Regions from separate parts of the Homo sapiens genome. Here regions 1, 2, 3, 5, 6 and 7 are each linked to region 4. The links are contacts of gene promoters, found by promoter capture Hi-C in human tissues and cell types (Jung and others, 2019). All regions are on one chromosome and are shown on one strand. Each heading gives the region's core, a stretch centred on a gene start or on the middle of the fragment in contact. The rest is flanking DNA. Distances are from core to core; before and after follow the strand shown.

Evidence for each region. The method cuts DNA at HindIII sites, captures the fragments that hold promoters and counts their contacts. A contact is called where the count stands out against the background at its distance.
Region 1: a fragment that was not itself captured here is called in contact with the fragment with the promoter of PAPPA in region 4 in 1 of the 25 tissues and cell types used here (mesenchymal stem cells).
Region 2: a fragment that was not itself captured here is called in contact with the fragment with the promoter of PAPPA in region 4 in 1 of the 25 tissues and cell types used here (mesenchymal stem cells).
Region 3: a fragment that was not itself captured here is called in contact with the fragment with the promoter of PAPPA in region 4 in 1 of the 25 tissues and cell types used here (lymphoblastoid cells).
Region 5: a contact is called between a fragment that was not itself captured here and the fragment with the promoter of PAPPA in region 4, in 2 of the 25 tissues and cell types used here (aorta and mesenchymal stem cells).
Region 6: a fragment that was not itself captured here is called in contact with the fragment with the promoter of PAPPA in region 4 in 1 of the 25 tissues and cell types used here (mesenchymal stem cells).
Region 7: a fragment that was not itself captured here is called in contact with the fragment with the promoter of PAPPA in region 4 in 1 of the 25 tissues and cell types used here (mesenchymal stem cells).

Annotation. Positions count from the first base shown.
Region 1 is chr9:115,788,640-115,791,441 of GRCh38, reverse strand. All of the region lies in intron 2 of LOC105376234 (a long non-coding RNA gene), which reads right to left. Among named protein-coding and RNA genes, the nearest start is that of LINC00474, 140 kb to the left of the region's middle. The HindIII fragment of the contact is 5,609 bases long and covers 1-2,802 here.
Region 2 is chr9:115,808,623-115,811,796 of GRCh38, reverse strand. The region is part of intron 2 of LOC105376234 (a long non-coding RNA gene); the gene reads right to left. Among named protein-coding and RNA genes, the nearest start is that of LINC00474, 110 kb to the left of the region's middle. The HindIII fragment of the contact is 6,988 bases long and covers 1-3,174 here.
Region 3 is chr9:115,848,236-115,851,247 of GRCh38, reverse strand. No RefSeq gene overlaps it. Among named protein-coding and RNA genes, the nearest start is that of LINC00474, 75 kb to the left of the region's middle. The HindIII fragment of the contact is 8,692 bases long and covers 1-3,012 here.
Region 4 is chr9:116,152,493-116,155,519 of GRCh38, reverse strand. PAPPA (pappalysin 1) reads right to left here and starts at 1,729. Exons shown (of 22, transcript NM_002581.5): 1 at 933-1,729. The coding sequence starts at 1,347. The HindIII fragment of the contact is 11,414 bases long and covers 1-3,027 here.
Region 5 is chr9:115,748,275-115,751,455 of GRCh38, reverse strand. The region is part of intron 2 of LOC105376234 (a long non-coding RNA gene); the gene reads right to left. Among named protein-coding and RNA genes, the nearest start is that of LINC00474, 180 kb to the left of the region's middle. The HindIII fragment of the contact is 3,851 bases long and covers 1-3,181 here.
Region 6 is chr9:115,729,665-115,732,469 of GRCh38, reverse strand. No RefSeq gene overlaps it. Among named protein-coding and RNA genes, the nearest start is that of LINC00474, 190 kb to the left of the region's middle. The HindIII fragment of the contact is 4,632 bases long and covers 1-2,805 here.
Region 7 is chr9:115,711,337-115,714,148 of GRCh38, reverse strand. No RefSeq gene overlaps it. Among named protein-coding and RNA genes, the nearest start is that of LINC00474, 210 kb to the left of the region's middle. The HindIII fragment of the contact is 3,141 bases long and covers 1-2,812 here.

The DNA of each region.
Region 1 (2,802 bases), core at 92-2,591, 360 kb after region 4:
CAGTGAGGTAGATCATATTATTATCCTGTATATATAACAGAGAAAGAAACTGAGGCACAGAGATGGCAAATAATTTTTTTAAAAATTATCTTGTTACGTGGCAGAACCAATCCAAAATTCCAACTCAGGGTGTCAGACTCTAGAACTCAGGCCTCAAGCATTATGCTTGATCACTTCTTCCATGCCTTGAAAGATGGTCAAATAAAGCAGTGTGGCTATTCTGATGTGGGAAAAAGAGATAACAGAGAGCTAAGGAAAATGGCAGCCTTCTACAGAAACTTCATTTGTACCTGCAATGAGTAAACACAACTCACTTTCTCCACCTGCACTTTTTACACAAGCACAAAAGAGTGAGCTGAGGTGAACCATGTCATTAGGGGCCTAAACTCCAATTGTCCTTCTCTCTGGCCTGGAGCCAGATCCCCTGCTTTAGGCCGTGTCATTTTCCTCTGAGGTATGCACAAAGTAGAGGTTATTCGTGTCACATCTGTTCCTGCTTTTTGGGTCCATTGGAAAAAAAAAAATCACTGACTTTATTTTCCAAGGGAGCCCCTTTTAAGAAAGACCGGATACAGGGTGGCCAGGAGGGAAACCTGTGTACGTCCTTAAAAGCAAACCTTTCAGCATTAGCATTCATAAAGCATATTTTGGCATATGTGCTCAGACTCTAATGTCTCCCCACCGACCCCTGTTCGGGTTTAGAATTTCAGAAACGTCACAATGCTACATTCCTTCTCTGCAAAGAAAATCGAACCTGTATGTCTATATTACACACCCATATGCAAAATCTTCACAGATAGGATGGGCTTTTCTCTGGCTTTTCCTGAGAACAGCCTCCAACTTTAAAATAGCCTTGCATTTTTTGAATTCTGGTTTTTTAATGAAGAGGCTTTCTCCTGCTAAGAGCCTTTGTTTGAAATGAGTAGTGTTTTCAGTAAGCATTATTTCTAAGATTCTTCCATACCGTCTAATATATTCACTCTCTTAAAATACTCATGGTGTACAGCTGGATGTGGTTATAGGCAAATTCTATATCTACAAATAAATTAATATATGAAAGTAAATTGAAATTTGTAAACAATTTTTAGGGCAATGTGTACAACTCCTTGAAATGGGACATTCTGGATATATTTTCCTTTTCTCTTATGGTAAATTAGTGGTAATTTGATTATTAGATAGACATATAACAATTGCCTAGCCATGTAAGCAACATCCTTTACTTCAAGCAGCTAAGGAACCATTTAGCTGCTAAGCTATGGAGTGGAGAATTGGTTAGAGGAAAAGACCCTGAAAGAAGAGATCAAAGAAAAGATGAGGACACAAAACATTCCTCACATTAATCACCAAATTAATTAGAAGTGGAGAGAGATCTTCCTTTCAGTCCTTTTTGACTATCCTACTTAAGACAGGCTCTTGGCTCTGAATTTATTATGGAGGATGTAACATTCCTATCCCATTTACCTGCATAGCTAATTCTCCTTTTATGCACTCATGTCTTGCCTCCCTAAACATACACTAGAAACTCTTTGTGGACAGGAAATATGCTTTGCAATTATACATGTTCTCCTGTTTAGCCCATTACTTTCTACTCAATAAGCATTGATTACACTATTACAGGTAATGCGCGCGCTCTCTCTCTCTCTCTCTCAGTCTCACTCTTCTTATCTTACCCTTTGAACAATCTGCTCTGGCCACCCTTGATGACTTGATATGCCGGATACCTCCAAGTTCTCCAACTCCATTTATTTGTTGAGACAGATCCATTTGTTAGACATATAATACCCGAGTTTCTATTTCCAATTGTGTGACCATTCTTATAGGACTCAGGGAAAAACATTAGCTAATCTCAACCTCAACTTTCTTATCTATAAAATGTAATTATTAAATGGAATGTATACAAAAAGCTTGGAATGGTGCCTGACATGTACTAAGCATTTAATAAATATAATTTTCTTTACCTTTCCCTACTTTTCTACCTCCTTTTGCCTGTCCCATGACAGCTATCTCATTGGCCTTTGTCTTTTGGCATCTCTCATCCTTTCTTCTTACAAGGAAAATAAAATAAATTAATACAAAGCAATTGTAATTTCATTTTTAAAAAGACATGCTTGGTTGGAAAAGAATGATGTGCTGTGGTATTGTACCACCTGACTTTGACAGTAGACTAAAATACAAAGCCATGTCTTCATTTACTTGGCCAGTCCTTAGACATGTTTATGTCCTGCAGCAATTCACTGGAAAACAAATTGATCTTCATGAAATGGGAAACTGTTTACTTAAAGAAGAGGACAATTGGAAAGAGGGTTATGGAGTACCATTCGTTATGTATTCCTCAGTCAGAGTAACCCTGAAGAGTGTCTGTATGAGTGTGCTTACTAAATGCTCATTTACTGAATACCTTCAAGACTTCAAACCAGGCAGTAGGTGCTGCAGGTGACTTTAAGGTAAAAGACAGCATCTTTGATCTGAAGGGGTCAAACAGGAAAGACAGACATGCTAAAGCTGCATGGCAATGTAGTGGGATAAGGGTTTTCTGCTGGGAATACAGGAAGCTCTGGAAATGCAGGGAAGAAAACAAGAGACAGAGGAGGTTCCTAGAGGGAGTGATGAGAATATAAATGGAGGAAGCGAAAGCATGTGCAGCATTAGCACTGGATGAATCCTTAGAGGTTTTCTGGCCCAGTCCCTGCTAAGCCAGGTAGCTAAAGGCTAGAAAAATATCCAAGCTCACATTCTTTGCAATTTACATATGAGTCTATTGGATATGGACAGATGTTGCAGGCTCTGTTCTCTAGGTTCAGA
Region 2 (3,174 bases), core at 309-2,808, 340 kb after region 4:
TGTGTCCAAATTTCCTCTTACTTTTTTTTAAAACCAATATCTTTAAATCTCAAACTTTAAAGATCACATATGCCAGGACAGCCATAAAGAAATAATTGCTTCTTTTGTTTCATCTTATTTTGTCTTCCTGGCCCAAATAATCTACAAATTTGAAAGAGGAAAGGACTAAATTTCCCCTTCTCTTGAGGACACCAGCCATATTCCATCAGGGTCCCCTCCAATGGCCTCACATTAACTCGATTACCACTCTAAAGAACCTCTCCGAGTTACATTCTGAGTTACTGGAAGTTAGGTTCATCAACATATTAATTTAGGGACAATAATTCAACCCATAACATATGGATTCCCCACATTTACTCTCTTCTCTGCTCTTCTCTGCCACCTCCCAATTGTCATTAATCTTTTTCCAAACCATTGAGATCAACAGCAGATATGCCTCCATGACTCCTCAATTCCCCACTGTGTATTTACCCCAGGCAAGGGCATTCTCTTCCATCACCACTGTATAAGCCTCCAAATCAGAAAATCAACCTTGATACAGTACAAGCATCCAATCCACATGCCCCATTCAAATTTCACCAGCCATCCTAACAGTGTCCCACTGGCGGTTCTGGCCAAGCATATTATTCAGGAATGCGTGTTGCTTTTAGCTGTTCGATTTTATCAATCTCCTTCAGCCTGAAACAGCACCTTAGCCATTCTTTGGCCTTCATGTTCTTGATAGTTTTTAAGAGTATAATCCATTCATTTTGTAGACCAAACCTCAACCAGAGTATTTCTAAAGTTGGCCTGACACAGTCCTTGCCTTCTTTTTTTTTTTAAAAAAAAGTCTTAAATAAATTGTATTTTTTAAAGCAGTTTTAGGTTCATGACAAAATTGAGTGGAGAGTACAGAGTTTCCATATTCCTCCTGCCCCCTCATCATGCACAGTATTCCCCACTATCAGTAACTGGCATCAGTGGTAGTTATTGTAACTGATGAGCTTACATTGACACATCATGATCTCTCAAAATTTATAGTTTACATTAGGTTTACTCTTGGTATTGAACATTCTATGGGTTTGGACTAATAAGTAATAATATGTATTCACCATTATAGTATCATACAGAATAGCTTTATTGCCCTAACAATTCTCTGTGCTCTGCCTATTTATCCCTCTCTTCCCCCAGCCTCTGACAACCCCTCATTTTTTTACTATCCCCATAGTTTTGAATTTTCCAGAATGTCATATAATTGGATCATATAGTATATAGTCTTTATAGTTCTACAGAGTCCTATATGTTCTGAGAGGGGTACCACAGAAGTGACACTGTGCTTTTTTCAACGAGTTCCATCAGGAAATGCATGCTGTTGACTCATCCTTCTTGTGGTCATGTCAGACTTTATCACCTGGTCATATTGTTCTTGATCAGATTTCTCCACAATACAGTAATCATTTCTTCTTTATAACTGATGAGTAGTTTGCAGGGGTGGGTGGATACTCAGATATTACCTTAGTGTCTTACTTTTGTCAGAACTCCACCCACTTTCCTAACAGCCATCATGACTTCTGCCTAAATCAACCACAACTATGATGCTTGCCAAGTGGCGTTTTTTTCTATTTCCATTCTATATTTCCTTCTATATTTTTTAGTTGTCATCTCAATACAGGGAAGAAATTTCTCTTTTACCCCATTCATTGATATGATTAATGGCTTATTTATTTATTTTACTATGGACTCATGGATTTTAATTAATTTAATGGGTCAATATATGTTACTACCACTTTCTGATTTGATGCTCAAATCTTCCCATCTGTGGTGATTAGGAACCTTTTGAACTGGCTCTGAAATTCTTTTGACATGTTTCAGTATTCTTTGAGCATTTCTTTATTTTCTAGCAAAACAAGATATTCTGTGCACCTCTCATACAATTTCAGTCCTGGATTCAGCCATTAATCCAAGGGCCTGTCATTCCTTTTAGTAGAAGAAGGTATTTAGAAGCTAAGTTTGTTTGACTATTCAGCGTGCTCATTGCCACTTCTCTGTCATGGCTTAAGGACTTCCCAATGGACAGAGGTAGAAAAATTATGTGTATGTGTGTGTGTGTGTACGCACATATATATGTGTGTGTGCATGTGTATATCCATATATACATATACAAAATTGTGTGTACACATATATATGTGTGTGCATGTGTATATCCATGTATACATACACAAAATTCTTATATTTATGTATATACAAATGTACCTAATAAACATAAAATTCATGACAATCCCTTTGGCTGCCCACAAATTTGTTTTCACTCTTCTCATTGATGGGTGACTTGATGTCATTTTTCCTTGAACCTAGACAAACTTGTGACTCATGTATAACCAATAGAGATGGGAGAAATGATGCCACATGTTTACTGAGACTCAGTTAGCAAAGGCATGCAGCTTTCACTTTGTTCACTAGAATGCACAAGTATATGGAGCTAGCATCAAAAAAATTCAACTGCCCTAAGGACTCTGGATGATTCCAGTCCCCTGCAGTTGGGTCTGCCGAATCATGGAAGTCTTTCCAGCTGAGGCCCCAGATGTCATGGAGCAGGCTGTCTGTGCCCCCTGTGCTCCCCCGGATCCCTGACCCACAGGATATGCAAACAGAAAAAGTTGTTTTGCACGACTAAATTTTGAGATGGTTTATCATATAGCAATAAAAAACTGTAAAAATCTCTAATTGCAAATGAAATACCTTCGTGTTCTTCTAGATGTCTTCCTTTTTATATTTGTAAATTATTTTACTAGTAGTAAGAAAACCGGCTCTCATTATTCTTAAAATATTTACTCATTTGCTCAATCATCTGACTTATTTGCTTAATGTAAGCAATCTCCCAACCACACTGGCTTCATCTTCTTCCCTGCTTCTGCCTCCTTGGCCCCTGGCCACACCACTACATGCGTATATTCTCCTCACTGCCCATATGAATCAGCACCTCTGGGCAGCCAGGTATACTGATGCCCTCACTCCCACCTCCATCCATTTTCCTTGGCAGCAGGACATGCCGATGCCTATGAACAGGAAATGGAACGGAAGAAGAAAAGGAAAATAAGGAAGGGAAACTGCTGTTATTTTTATTTCAGCTGAAAAAAATCTCAAGGGCTAGATTTGGACAACAGTTGGCAAATTATAGCTATATGGTCATTGTTA
Region 3 (3,012 bases), core at 214-2,713, 300 kb after region 4:
CTGCTTGTTTAGCTGAAATGAGTCTCAATCTTAGACACTAATTCCTATTTCTCAGGAAGAACAGAATGAAATGCTCTGTTTGCCAACAGTGTCCACAGTGATTAATCTGTACTCATCTTGTGGTTATGTCTGGAGAAAAGCATGAAGCCATATTTGCATAATTGTTTATAAACTCATCCTACTCCTTGGTGGGTGTGTATTTACCCCACAAGCTGCACTCAGCTGAGGTTAATACTCTCCAGAGTAACAGAAGAAGAGCTGCAATCATTTTAGTAGAGCAATTGTGTTCCTTAAGGGGCATCAGAAAGACCTAACTCTTTCACTTGACTGCTCTCTTAGCAAAGATCATTGTTAAGGTGATTTGGTTGATGAAGAAAACTGACATTTATTGAATTCCTAAGGATTTAACAAATTCATTTTGCATTCAACAACAAGAAAAAAAGTAAAGCAGTTATTACATGTCTTGTACTAGACAGGAAGCTGTAGCTCAAGAAGGTTAAATGTGTGGTCAATATCAAACAGCTACTATGTGTTGAACCAAGACTTGAGTTCAGATCAAATTCTAAAATGTTTTAGCTACATCCCAGTGCCCATCTGTTGTGTGCGTGTATGTGTTTGTCTCTGTGTGTGTGTTTGTGTGTGTGTGTGTGTGTGTGTGTGTGTGTGTGTTTTCTAAACCTATTCCTGCTTTTAAAGAAGGGAAGAGGGTTTGAAGGGATTATTATGTGTAGTCTCTGCCTAAGAGTTTGTTTACAAAATAAATAATCAATAAACATAGGATTGAAACTTTTTATAAAGGAAGTTCAAATTTTTGGGGGGTACACACATTTATTAAGTATTCAGTGTTTCTTCTATACATTTTCTACAATACACTAGCAGCAATTGTCATCTCTCCATGCTGTTTTGGGGAGTATTTGGGTTCTTTGGGATTGGAACACAAACAAACAAAACAAAACAAATACAAAAAGTATTTTTACTCTGTCTTAGATGCACCAAGCAGGGGAGAAATTAGTCAGCTGGAACTCAGCTGTTGATGCTTTGGCTAATAGTCTACAAACATGCCAAAAATATTCTTCCTTTTCAGAAAACTGTTAGCTAAGATCATGCAAAAGCCTGTAAGAAAAGTCGAGAAATTTGTATAGTTCTCACTCTCAAGTCAAGCCTGGAAAATGGCTTGCCCCAGTGGCTGGAAGCCAGCGAGTGTGATTATGTTGGAATCAGAGATGAAGAGAGAAAGACATCTGAGCCCACATTTCTTTCATTAAACACACCAGTTCTTCTGCCAGGATCATGGAGTTATTGGATTTGACCATGAGGAGGCATAACGAAACCCAAACCACAGGAAACAACATTATTGAATAGCTACTCTACCACATCCTGTAATACAAATATAACCAACCTCACCTATAACTATATTAAGCCCCCACAACATCCACACCAACAAGCATGTAAACAACAACAAAATAGTAAGACAGATAAATGAGGTTAATGAGAGTTGTTATAAAGAAAATTAAATAGAGTGATGCCACAGTAACTTAGGGTGGGGTAAAGGTTACTTTAGCTAGACTGGCCTTGGGAAAACCCTCTCCCTATATGTAATATATAAACTTGAATGATGAAAAGGAGCTATCCATCAAATATTCTGGGAAAAGAATATCCTACTAGAGCCTTTGTATGTGCAAAAATCCTGAGTTGAATATAAGTGTAGTATATGTGAGAAACAAAAGTAGGACCATTGTAATAAACAGAGAGAACGATAATAGGTAGGTGCTGAGAGGAGGGATCATGAAAGGCTTGGGAGGTTACGGTTCTTACTTTGAATGTACTTTAGGTACACTGGGATATTGTTAGATAGATTTAAACAAAGGAGTTATAGGACATAATTTATACTTTAAAAATGCATTGCTGAATGGAAAATGTAGTAAAGTATAGCAAGAGGAAAAATAGAGGACAAGTGTCTATGAGCAGTAGAAAGAAAACATTTACGGGACTTAGACTGTCATGGGTAGGGGGAGAGTGAGGCTGTTGACTAAATGAGAAGTGAAGGATTTACAGTTGTACTCCATGGAAGTAGAACATGTCAGAGGAGCCTCTGGATTTCTTGATGCCATTACTTTTTATTACATGACATGAAACATTTGTGCCACGGCACAGCTGTGCCTTGAACCCAGGAATGAATTCACATGGAATTTTAATGATTACACACTAATGTGGCTGGCAGTGTCTGTGACCATACACATGGAAAACAGGAGAGAGAGAGATGAAAAGAGTGAAGTAGGAGAAAATGTCAGCAACTGCTTTTAGTATTGAAAGAGTTTTAGGATCAAGTATTGATGTGAAGTCCTTGGAGAGCCACAGAAAAATCAAAAGCAAGACAGGATGGAAAGATAGAGAAGAAGGCATTAAAAAAGCAAAAATGGAAGACATAAGGATAGAAAGAGGGATTGAAGAAACAAAGAAGAACAAAGATGTATGTGATAGGGGGCATGGTAGAGACCTAAAGCCACAAACAGAAATTCCTTTCCAAATCTAGAATAACATACTTCAGAGGAACAGCAGACCTAAGAGTTTGGAACACTAATAATGAGAATCATTATTTTCCACATACCTTGCATATGAAAGGCACTATATTAATTGCTTTACGAGCTGCGTGGGGAAACAGACTTTGAGAGGTAATTCAACTTATCCAAACCCTACAACCACTTATTTGCAAATTCAAGATTCCAATCCAGAGCTATAGAATCCCAAACCACTTATCTCACTATAAATTAGCTTTATTTATTTTTGAATTGTTCATAAATAGCATCATATAGTGTGAATCTTTTTCTGGTGCCTGGTGTATTTCTTCAACATTTTGAGATTCATCAATGTTTTTGCATACTCCTTTTCATTGTTATAAAATATTTCATGACTATAACACAGCTTAGTGTTGATGAACACATATTTCCATTTTTTAAATTATTGTTATAGGCATTGAAGATAAGAACGCTCCTGAACATACCTTTTTTTTTT
Region 4 (3,027 bases), core at 480-2,979:
CAGAAAAGGCAAAACTTTCCTCCTCTCTTCCAGCGCCGCCCCCACCTCCGCTCCCCAGTTTTATTAAAGGCATTTCCACAGATTCATTTAGAGGGGGGAAAATGGATGCTGGAGCATTTCTAAGGTTTGCAATCCTCGCAAAGTGTCCGATTTCACTATAGGCTTTGCTGTGGAACAGCGAAGGGGAGAGAGAGGGAGGTTGAGGAGGGAGAACTCAAATTCATTACGGGCTCATAAAGTCCCATATGAGAAAAGCGCCCCGTTTCGCAGCCGCGTCTGGGGAACGCTGGCGGGGTATGCGTTAGGAAGGTCTCGTCCCAGCCCCGAGTGACAGGCAATGGGCTTTAAAAGCTAGGACATGGGATGGCGTGGAGGGGGTGAGGGTGAGTCCCAGAGGCAGGCTTCAATCAGTGAGCAACTTTGGGGCACTTCGAGGACTTCTAAGTCCTGGCCATTACAACAACCTTGCCCTTGCCGGCTTTCAGGGGAATGGGGCCTAATGAAGGGGAGTTACCTCCATTAAAACGTCAAAGAAATCAACGGTCCCCAAGTCTCCTTTCACATGCATCTCAATTGGGTCATCCTCCCTTTCATCCCAAAAGGAGAGAGTGCATCTGACCATTCGGAGCACGGGTTACGTGCCCTAGGCTCCGGGAACCAGCCCTCACTGGCCGAGGGTCCGCGGGGCCGCCAGGAGGGCTCCCCAGGTTCCTCCCAGGGATGGAGCAGCTACGCCTTCCGAGTGTGCCCATTCCACCGATGGAGCAAAGTGAGGCTCTCAGCTCGCCCGGATGTCTCTGCGCCGCTCGCGGGGCAGCTCTCGCACAGACACGCCCGCAAGCCCCCGACCCGCCCGCCACCCGCGCCCAGACACCCGCGAGCCTCTGGGGCCGCAGGGACGGTGCAGCGCCCGCCGAGGCGCCCTCACCTACCTGTGATCACTGCCGGAGACCTCTGGCCCCCCTCCGCTCGCAGCCACACTTGCAGCGTGAACGCGTCCCGGGGCAGCTCGAGGTCGGCCCGGAGGCGCAGCTGCTCGCCTCGCCCGCTGAAATAGAGCGCCCGGCTCGGCGGGCTCGGCTCCTCGGTGGCGCCCCTCGCCTCCCGCTGCTGCCGCCGCCGGGGGACGCGCACGGCTTCCCAGGCACCGCCCGGCGGCGGCGGCGGCGGCGGCGAGGCGCGGCGGCCGCGGGCCGCCCGGGTGGCGCAGGTGGCCGGGCCGGCGGCGGGGCGCGGGGGTCGGCCGGCCCGCGGGTCTCTCCGGGCCCGGCGGGGACGCTCGGCCAGCCCGCAGCCCAGCGCGGCGCTCAGCAGCCCCAGGTGCAGCACCCAACTCCAGAGCCGCATGTCCGACGGTTCCCCCCGCCCCCCCTTCGCCCCTGCACCGCCACCCGGAGCTGCCAGCTTTGGGAGCCTCGGCGCCTCGACTTTCTTCGCTTCTTCACCCTTCTTGGGCGAGCCCCCCTTTCCACTTGCTTTTTTCTTTTCTTTCTCGCTTTCCTCCTCAAGGTGTGTGCTCCACTCTCCCCACCTTTGAAAAATACAGCCCAACTCCTCCTGGTTGGCAATTAATTTCTCTCCCCGCTCCTTTATCTGCCTTATTTTTCCCCTAACAGCTGGTTGCCTTCCTCCTTGTTTTATTTCATTTTATTTTATATGATTTCTCGCTCCAAAAAAAAGCTCCTCTTAAGACTGATCCGCTGAATTCCCTCCCCCCAAAAGATGCTCTAATTTATTTATTTTTTGCGTCCTTTATAACACAAGCCACAGCCCCCTTCTCCCCCCCCAAGTCCCCCCTCCCCTCCCTCCTTCTTCTCAAAATGAAAGGAAAGAGGGGGAAAAAATCCCTCAGAAGATGAGTAAACAAGCGTATGCTAATCTGCTCCCCAGCGCTCCACCTTCCCAATTGAATGAGTCCCTGTTAAAACTGCGGGGATCATGACTAATCAATCAGTTTGGAGAGGCCGAGCTATCCAGCTTTCCTTCACTTTGCCTTTTGCCTCCTTTCCTTCGCTCCCGCTTCTCCACCACCCCCTCCTTTTCTCTCTCTCTCTCTCTCTCTTTTTTTTTTTTTTTTTTTAAGGAGACAATCTTAAAGTAACAATTTAATGAAATTCTGTACACACCCCCTTACGGTCCTCCCAGCTCTCATTCCTGCTCAAAACACACATTCCTGTTTTTGTTTTGTTTTGCTTGCTTTTTTTCCCTCCCTCACTCCCCCCACTTATTATTATTATTTCTGATGGCAGGAGAAAAATCTGTCTCTTCTCTTAGGATCCCCTTTGCACTTTGCTGGTAAACCTCATCCTTTTCTGTAGCACATAAAGAGTCTTGAAACTTGATTCTTAGATTTTTTTTTTTAATTCTCTCTCTCTGTCTCTCCCTCCCTCCCTCTCCCTCTCTTTCTCTTTTTCTCACTCTCTCCCTTACTCTTCTTCCCGCTTCCTCTCCCTTTACCTCTTTCCCTCTTCTTTTCCCTGTCCTTTTCCCTCTCAGAATTTCCTTAAAGTTGTACGATGATGAACCATTCCCCTCTTTTCTGAGCCCCCAGATAAGGCTGGCTTCAGCTAACCCAAATGTTTCCAAAGTTCTTATGGAATCATCAGAAGAAAATAGAAGAAAGGCACTGTCCAGGACATCTGCCTTTCAGAAGCTGTAGTCCTAGTACAACTGGGTCTCTGAATTTCCCCGAATACTCTTTAAAATACTCTGTTGGTCATTAGAAATTATTTTAATTTTATAAGAAGAAAATGAGAGAAAAATATTAATTTGCCTAATGTTTTCAACTTAAGCAATTCAGGTCCTCTGAAATTGTTAAAGTCACAGGTAAGGATCTGACCATTTGCTGCTTTGTAGGTCTGTTTTTGAACTGGGACATACATGTAATATATTTTTTTCTTCTTTTTTCCCCCTCTTTATAGAACTCAAAAGCTCCCCCTTATGGCAAAACAGATCTTCTTTTATTTTGTCCAAGTGTTTAATAAGTCAAAACATGTTAGCAATGGTGGATTACAAGCTATTAATTAC
Region 5 (3,181 bases), core at 642-3,141, 400 kb after region 4:
GGTAAACAATGTCCATGTATTTCATGGCTGGCCATATTAAAGTTCACCATTGACTGAAGTGGTTTCTGCTTGGTTTACCAATGTAAAGTTACTATCTTCTCCCATGTATTTAATAAGTACCTTATAGGGAGGTACTTTCTATAAATATGTTTGCATGCAAAAATCTTGTTTCTCATCATACCTTTACCCACTAATTTTAGTTTTCATTGATAAATCTTGCCTGCAACACCTATTTCTGTAGTATTTGCTAAGTGATGAAGTCCATCTATCTTTCTTCATATATAAGTTGGAATTCTGCTGAGGAAAAGAGCTTTCACTCTCCCTCATTTACTTATTTATTTATATCAATATAAAACAACACAGGCTGTTTTATTAGTACTTATTTTGTTGCTTATGGTGTCATAAAATTTACCAGTGAAAGCTTCTTCAGGTTAACTGCTACATTCTTTTTACATGCCCCATCATTTTTGGAGTATTCTCTTATTTCTTGGCACCATAAGTAGTCCCAGGCTTATCTTGCATTTCCCTGTACTAGCACTGAAATAATCCAGTACTTAAATGAATTCATTTTTCCTTTTTATTTATTTTAAAAATAGTATTTAGAAACTATTTTGAAACTTTAGGTGTGCTCATTATAATTGCTGTACTACAGTATTATTACTTCTAGGCCCTCTCAGCAGACAAAAATGAAAAAAAAATAAGTATGCACACACACACATCTACATCAATTTAACCGTATATATACACAAATGTGATTTATGTGTGTGTGCATATGAATGTGTGTATATAAATATATACACACATACATATATTAATATATACATATATTGTATATAATGCATATAATATATACATATATAAATATATACACACATACATATATTAATTTATTGTAATACCTCTGATTCAAATCCAACATTACACAGTTCATTCTAGCCTTCAACCTTTAATTATGATTCCTTTCTTCAAAAATGAGAAAACTGGCTTTCATTATCCATGATTTGATAGCAAGTTTATTTATTTGCTATCTTAGAATGCATTTAAAGTCATTCCAGGATTACTAACGTTATGGAAAACAAACTTATTAACTAGAGTAAAATTCCATGTACAGTTATTTTTGTTGTTAGCTTTGCAATTTGTAGTCGAAATCCTGTTTTCCAGTATTACTTAGGTTAGTCCTTAACTTTCCCACTCCCTTCAGTAAAATGATTTCATCTATTTTTTGTAGAGTTAGTTCATTTGTTAATGTTTGTATTCTGCTTAAAGTTTACCTCCTTCCCAATTCTCCGTTGATTTTGTCTGTCTATTTGATTGGTTGGTATTTATTTATTTGGTATGTGATATACTATCACTCTTTCAAAAGTCAAAGCTTTACAAAGACATATACTCAAGGAGGTACCACTCATCCTTTATTCCTTCCAACCAATTTCCATTCCCTTATTCTTTCCTACCCACTCTCTGCAGGCAATCCATCTTGTTAGTGTCTGGTTTACCTTCCTGTATTTCTTTTTGAACAAATGTACATATACATGCATATTGATTTATGCCACCTTATTTTTACATGAAAGGTTGCATACTATGATACTGTAAGAGAATGAAGCCTCAATCCCTAATCTTTCCAAGTACTGAATTATTAAAGTTATAAAACTAGAGAATAAGTAAACCATTCTTGAAGCCACATAAACATAAGGTCTTAAGTACAAAAGGCAATAGCATAAAAATATATTAATAGTTACTCAAATTTCAGCCTAAGCCTCCTCTATAAGCACCTACAGCAAGGTTTCTATATGTTATTCAATGATCCCAAATCCAGAAAAGTTGTAATACTGAGCAAAACTTCCACAAAATCATAGCTATTAACTTGGATATAAATGATACTTTGTAACTTCTAATACATTTTTTCACTCATTATTTTATTACACACCCCTATCATCCTGTGAGGTAGCAAGAAGTTGTTTTCTCATCTTCATTTTTACATATGGACACACTGGAACTCACTTACTTGCATACTTGTCTGCCATCCCCAACACATGCTGATACTCTGGAAACCATGCATTTTGCCTTATCACTCCTCTAATGCCTAGCAGAGCTACATGCTACTTATGCAGTGGCAAGGAAACATTGATTGGACAAGATTAAATAGTAAATCCAAGACAAATAGCTAGTCAGGGGTGAAGTCAGGAGTCCTTAATTTATTTAGTGATTCAACAAGCATTGAACATTCAATAAGCATTGGACATTTATTTTACACTTGGTACAAGGGACAGAAAGATAAGAAATACGAGGACCATGTTTTCAAGGAATTCACTGTCTGTAAACACAGACGAATAAACATGTGATTAGAATATGATGAGAAGGCTATGATACAGATAAGTGTTATGGTATTCAGAATATATTTATTTATCTATTTATTTATATAAATTTAAGTGGCACAAGTGCAGTTTTGCTACAAGGATATACTACACAGTGGTGAAGTCTGGATTTTTATTGTAACCACTACCCAAATAGTGGTTTTTGGGTACACAATAGTGTACATTACACACATTTAGCAAGTATAGCTGTTTGGGATCTTGGAGTTACTGAGAGGGGGAGACCGATAGCTTTTGGTATAAGCACCTTCTTGGTGCCTGGAATATTTCATCCTTCTCTTCTTTCACTGTGGTTCTCCCATAGACACTTTTATAACTCATGCTTAGTCTTTGGGTCTCATTCTCCACTTTTTTTCTTCCATGAAGATGCCCCTATTCTGATTGAATTTGAGAATCTTCATTTGGAGTTTGCTATCACTCTGTGTTTTTCTACATTCAAGAATTTTTTAGAAGGTATAAATGCTGGAGGTAAAAAGTCGTATTAATTGCCGCTATCTTGGAACACCGCATAGTGGAGAAAACATGGGCCCCGTTACTGAGACTCAGTTTTCCTGGTATGGCAGAGTGGAATAGGAATTGGGAGATCAAAGGTCAACTGAATCTGAGCTCTGCTCCTCTTGGCTATGTGATTTTGGACAACTTGTTTAATTTCTTTAAAGTGCTATTTTCCTTTTTCCGAAATGTACGGATAAAAATGGTACTTACTTCAAGCTCTATGGTCAGAATTTAATATTAAATATAATAAAAATAAAGTACTTATAAAATATCTAGCATTTAGAAAATACCTGTTAGTTAAGCATCAACTATTATTA
Region 6 (2,805 bases), core at 75-2,574, 420 kb after region 4:
AGAAAGGGCAGGGCTAGGGTAGATAAGGACTTGCAGAATCAATGGCACTTGTCCTGTGCCTTGAAGAATGTGTACGTCTTTGATGAAGTAAGGAGGTAAGGGAGGCTATTGTAGGTGGGCCAACCACATAAGAAATGGGATGGAGAACTAGCAGAATTTACTCATAAGTATATTCTTTAATCCTTAGGCTTCCTCTTGAAAGGAATTTCCTTAAAGATGCATTCCTCAATACCCCAGTTCAATAGTGTTCACTTTTTTCCCCTCCCTCATAGCATACTACAGTTTTCCTTCAAATTACATATTATAATTTAAAACTGAATATCTATTTATGTATGTTGATGGGGCCACCCATCAACATACCAAGTAGAGTGGTGTGTGTGTGTGTTTTAATTCAGTCTCCCCTGTTAGGCTGTAAGTTTGTTCTGTGAGGATATAAATCTGGTGTATTTTTACAAATAAAACAAAATAAGAAAAAAGTGACAAAAAAGCATATGTTACAGTTAGCTACATTTTATAAAACCTATTTACTCTCTTTTCTTATTCAACAATAACAGCCAAGCAAGCAAATAACAGAAAAAGTAAAGGAAACCAAACAACATCAAAATTTAAAACCAACAAACTAGTCATGTGTGATGTCTAGCACCATACATACCTGACGCATTGTAAATGCTATTACACATTTTTCATTGAATGAATGGATTAGTCAAGTGACCTGCCTGCATAGAGGGTGGTGCAGTGCTGTAGAAATAGAGATATGGATGAGGAGCAAGATAGGTCACTCTGTCCCTGCCTCCAAGACAACTGTGGATCAATCCCTATTCCTCTCTTAGCCTTCATTGTGTTTTCTGTAAATTCAGAGCTAAAGGCACTCAGTGGGTTTTCTGGTACTAACGTTCTAGGATTTTTAATGCTTCTTTAATTATTTACTGAGAAGTATTTGCATTATACTAGTTAGTACCCATTAGTAAGAATACAAGATATGATGGTGCTTTTTAATATACAAATAAAGGATTGTTAAGAGTTCTTTTTTCCTTATCATATAAATATACATTGAGCCCCTACATACAAGGTCTTAGGGGAAGCAGAGAGCAGTAAAGAAACATGGCTCCTGACTTTGAGCAACAGAGATAGAGAATGAAAGAGGAATAAAAGAATGATAATTTAAAATGACAAGAAAAATAACAAGAAGAAAGATGCAGGAAATGTAAAGGAGAGGTAAAAGAAAGTGAAGATGAAAAGGGGAAGGACGTGGAGAAGGAATGATTTCTTGGGCATGTATTTTATGCATCTTATCCTATTTTACTGATGTTGAAACTGAGGTTCTAACAGATTAAATCTAAAGTTATTGGTAGGACTTGGCTTACTTCCAAAGCTGACTGCTTTATGATCTTAATATTGAGCCTATGATTCCTCTCTGCCTGGTGAAACCACATACAGGGAAACAGGCAGTTGCACTGATGTGGTAAGGGACTTGAGAGAGACCTGCATCCTTTTCATTTGTAATCCAAGACCAAGGGCCCTGCCCTCTTGTTCCTCTGGAGTCTCCCTCTTAGTACTTAGCATGCTTATGTTTCCCCTGCACTTAAAAGAAAAATGAAAAGAAAAGAAAAAAGAAAATGTTGCTACAGCAAACTGAAGGGAGAAAGACTATTTTCCCCCAAAGAAAGAGGAAGCTTGCAGAAGCTTGGGGTAAAGACAGGGCGGGGAGATGGCAGGGGAGGATCAAACTGAAGCCTAAAGGCTTTTGGCTTCTCTCCTCAATTCTTCCTTCTCTTCTTTGCAGCTTTTAAGTTTCATTCATTGTATCAGTGGGATTTGGGGATTGGACTGAAGTTGCGGTAATAGAGGTGCCCGAGGCAAACTTTGATTCTTTAGTTTCCAAGAAAAACAATTATCCTAATCTAGCCTGCCATCCCTTCTTCTCCCCCAGCAGTGGAAATTCACTGGGTTCAGAGAGCATTCTTGGGAGGAGACGTGTGCTGTTTCAGTCACATTACATTGTGTGACTACAATTTGCCCAAATTCCTTTTTTCCCCCACTTACATTATTTGCCATTTATTTATTAAGCATTTACCCAGTGCTTCATATAACTAGCCTTCATTGAGCTCTTCCCAGGAGCCCAGTGCTTAGTCAAGGATGTGAGATATATTATTTCATTTAGTCTTCACGGTGACCCACAAGGTAAATATAATTTTTATCCTTGTTTATTCCAAAGAGATTAAGTAACCTGCTCAAATTCACAGATATGAATTAGACTAGCCAATATGTGAACTCCTTCATTGCCTGTCTTCAGGGCCTGTGCTCTTAACATGTCATCATACAATCTCTGAACCACAACCCCTGTGTCCTAATTACCATTCTATGATTTTTAAATAAATCTTGAAACCAAGACACAGAGGGCTGAAGCAATTGCTTCAGGTCCCACAGCTTGAAAACAGCAGAGGTAAGATTTGAATTCATTATGTTTCTTTGTTGTTGTTGTTGTTTTTCTTTATTTCTTCTAAAAAAAGAAAGACAACAAAACACCATACATGTGCAGAACGTGCAGGTTTGTTACATGGGTATACGTGTGCCATGATGGTTTGCTGCACCTATTGACCCATCCTCTAAGTTCCCTCCCCTCAGCCCCTACCCCATAGCAGACCCTGGTGTGTTTGTTCTCCTCTCTGTGTCCATGTGTTCTCATCATTCAGCTCCCTCTTATGAGTGAGAAATTGTGGTGTTTGGTTTTCTGTTCCTGTGTTAGTTTGCCGAGGATAATGTCTTCCAGCTTCATTCATGCCCCTGCAAAGAACATGATCTCAT
Region 7 (2,812 bases), core at 88-2,587, 440 kb after region 4:
TAGCAGTAAAAATCATGCTCCTGTGGTATATGTGTTCATACCTACCTCAGCCACTAGGAGAAAAAAGATTCAGACTGGAAACCTAGTGAGAGGCCCCAAGTTCTGCTCCTACTTCCCACAAGCAAGTGACTCAAACTCTGTGCTTCAGATTCCTAATTTCTAAAATAAGTAGCTCAAACCATACCAGAACTCCCCAGAGTATATCCAGTGGAACATCATTTCTCAAGATGCTGAAGTAAGGAATCTGTGTTAAAATGAATTCAGTTGATGTTGTAACACACATCACGCTTTATGATTCATAGTGCATATTAGCTATCAAAAGTTCAGATTGGCCCTTAAGTAATGAAATTCATTTTTTCATGGAATCACTTAAAAGCATTCTGTAGAAACAAGGACCTAAAAAAATGCTTTGGGAAAACCAGATGGAGTACTTTCAGACACTTCTTTGGGATTTAAACTGTGGTCCTGTAGAGAGTACACCATGCTTGGAGACTTGTAGTTCCAGATAATTATCTCTCATTTGGCGTTGGCCCTTATTCAGAATTTTTTTTCTTACCTTACTTTCCACTCTTAGCTAATTGTCACATACATTCACTTCCTATATTTGTGTTAATCAGAACCCTTCTAGTCTCTAGTTATGGAAGCCTAACTAAAAGTACCAAAATAAAATAATGGTTTGGGAATGAATAGTTTTGGCCTATGATATCTGAAAAATTCAAGAATAACATAGCATAATTGATTGTCGCCAAAGATGGGCACCAGGAACTCCTCTATCCTCTGAAACTGAGGAGAGCAAAGATCACCTGGTGACCATCAAGCAGACCATCCAGAGGCAAATTCCTTATCTGAGGAATTTAGAAATAATTAGACTTCCCTATTATCTAAAGCAGGCATCTGGTTCCAGATTTCTTTCCCAAAAATGTGTAATTAACTGGAATTTCTATACATCTCTGGAATGCACGCATGTTGAAACTAACTGTGCAACCCTTGCTGACATCAAGGCACCAAAATGTCTACAAATGTAATCATTTATCATGACCTATGTGGCTAATATGGTCTAAATTATCCCAAGCTCCCACTTTAAGGTCCATATATACCCCTCAGGAAAAATCCACCACCACACACTGAGTCCTCTCTTGCTGAGGCATCCCGCTGCACTCTTCTGCAGTGTTCTTTCTAATAAAACTTTCCTTTTTCAAACCTATACTGTTGTCGTCATATAATTCTTACTAACCTGCAAGACGAACACTTTCCAGTGCTGGGGTTCTGAGACTTAGCCCCGCAGAAACTTTAAAACACTTTGCATCAGAAAGTGGAGTCTAATTCCCCTATCCCTGAATTTACAAGCTAAAACTTGTAAGCTTCTTTGGCCAATAAAATGTAGCAGACGTGATGCTGAAAGAGTCTGGGCTTGTCCCTTAAGACGTTTAATTGCTGCCTTTCTTGCTCTTTTGCTCATTTGCTATGTAAATGAGCCTGAGCCGACTACTGGACTGCTGAATGATAAGAGAAAAGTAGGTATGAGGAGAGAGAGAGAGAGAGAGAGAGGAGAGAGAAGAGAGAGAAGGAAAGAGAGATCAGAAGATGAGAACTGAGGTTCTGTAGCAGACAGCCAGCGCTGGGGCCCCAGATACTTAAGTGTTTCCCCGGAATGTTATAGCCTCAGCCAAGCTCCTGACTGAAGGAAGCACCCTTATTTATTGACTCCAGTCAACACCATATGCAGCAGAAGAACCACAAGATGATCCCAAAATTATAAGAAAAGTGTTTTTTTAAAAAGTTGTTTTTAAGTCCTTAAGTGTTAAGAGAAATGCTAGATAGGGCTAAATAACTGGGGAAAAAAAAAAAAGAAAAGAAATTAGTGTGAACGTGACAAAAATATAAAATACGTGGCATTGGCTTTGGGACCAGGCTGCAAGCGGAGGCCAGAGGGTGATGAAACTCTTAGTGGAGGATGGTGCAGAAGTGTGGAAATTGCTTTGGGGGCTGCAGGAAGGGTGATGGGTGTTATGAGTAGAAACATTATTACTTAGAGTAAAATTGAAATTTTAAGAAAAAATCGACCCAATGAGCTTGTGAATCTTGCCGAGATTTTCAGGAAGAATATTGACAGTATTAATTGGGTCTTTTGTCTGCCTATTATGAGAATGGAGACTCAGTTAAGAAAGAGATGTTCATTTCCCAATCAGAATTTAGAGAAAATACTTCCAACCTAGGATTTACAGGACTCGAAAATAGAACTGTATCTAATTCTCATCTACTCCCGCTGGCATATGACTAGAAAGTAAGATATGACCTCGGGGCAAATGTAATAACCTGGATACTTCCAGTGAAACGTGAGGATGGGATCAAGGTCAAATCTAAGGTGTGGTTTTATCACCCATTATTAAGACATCAGACATTTTTAAGTTGTTACATTTAAATCTTTCTCAGGTAGTCCACAGAGCTAAAAATCTTTAAGGGTATTGTTCCACAGCATGTTGATTCTGAGTCCGAAGTGGAGAGAGTTAGAATTTGAAGAGATAATACAGGTGTGAGAGTATCTCAAGTCAATTATAACTGGATATGTAGAGACCCCATAAAGTTTTTTATTGTTATTTTTTAGTGTGATTATTCTGATATCTTTTAAAAACTAGCTCGACTGATGGATTTTTATGCCAAAAAATTCACCAACTGTAAGTATACAGTTTTTTGAGTTTTGGCAAATGTCTACAATCATGTAACCACCACCAAAGTCAAGAAATGTTGGGTAGAAGTGGTGGCTCACACCTGTAATCCCAGCACTTTGGGAGGCCGAGGTGGGCAGATCACC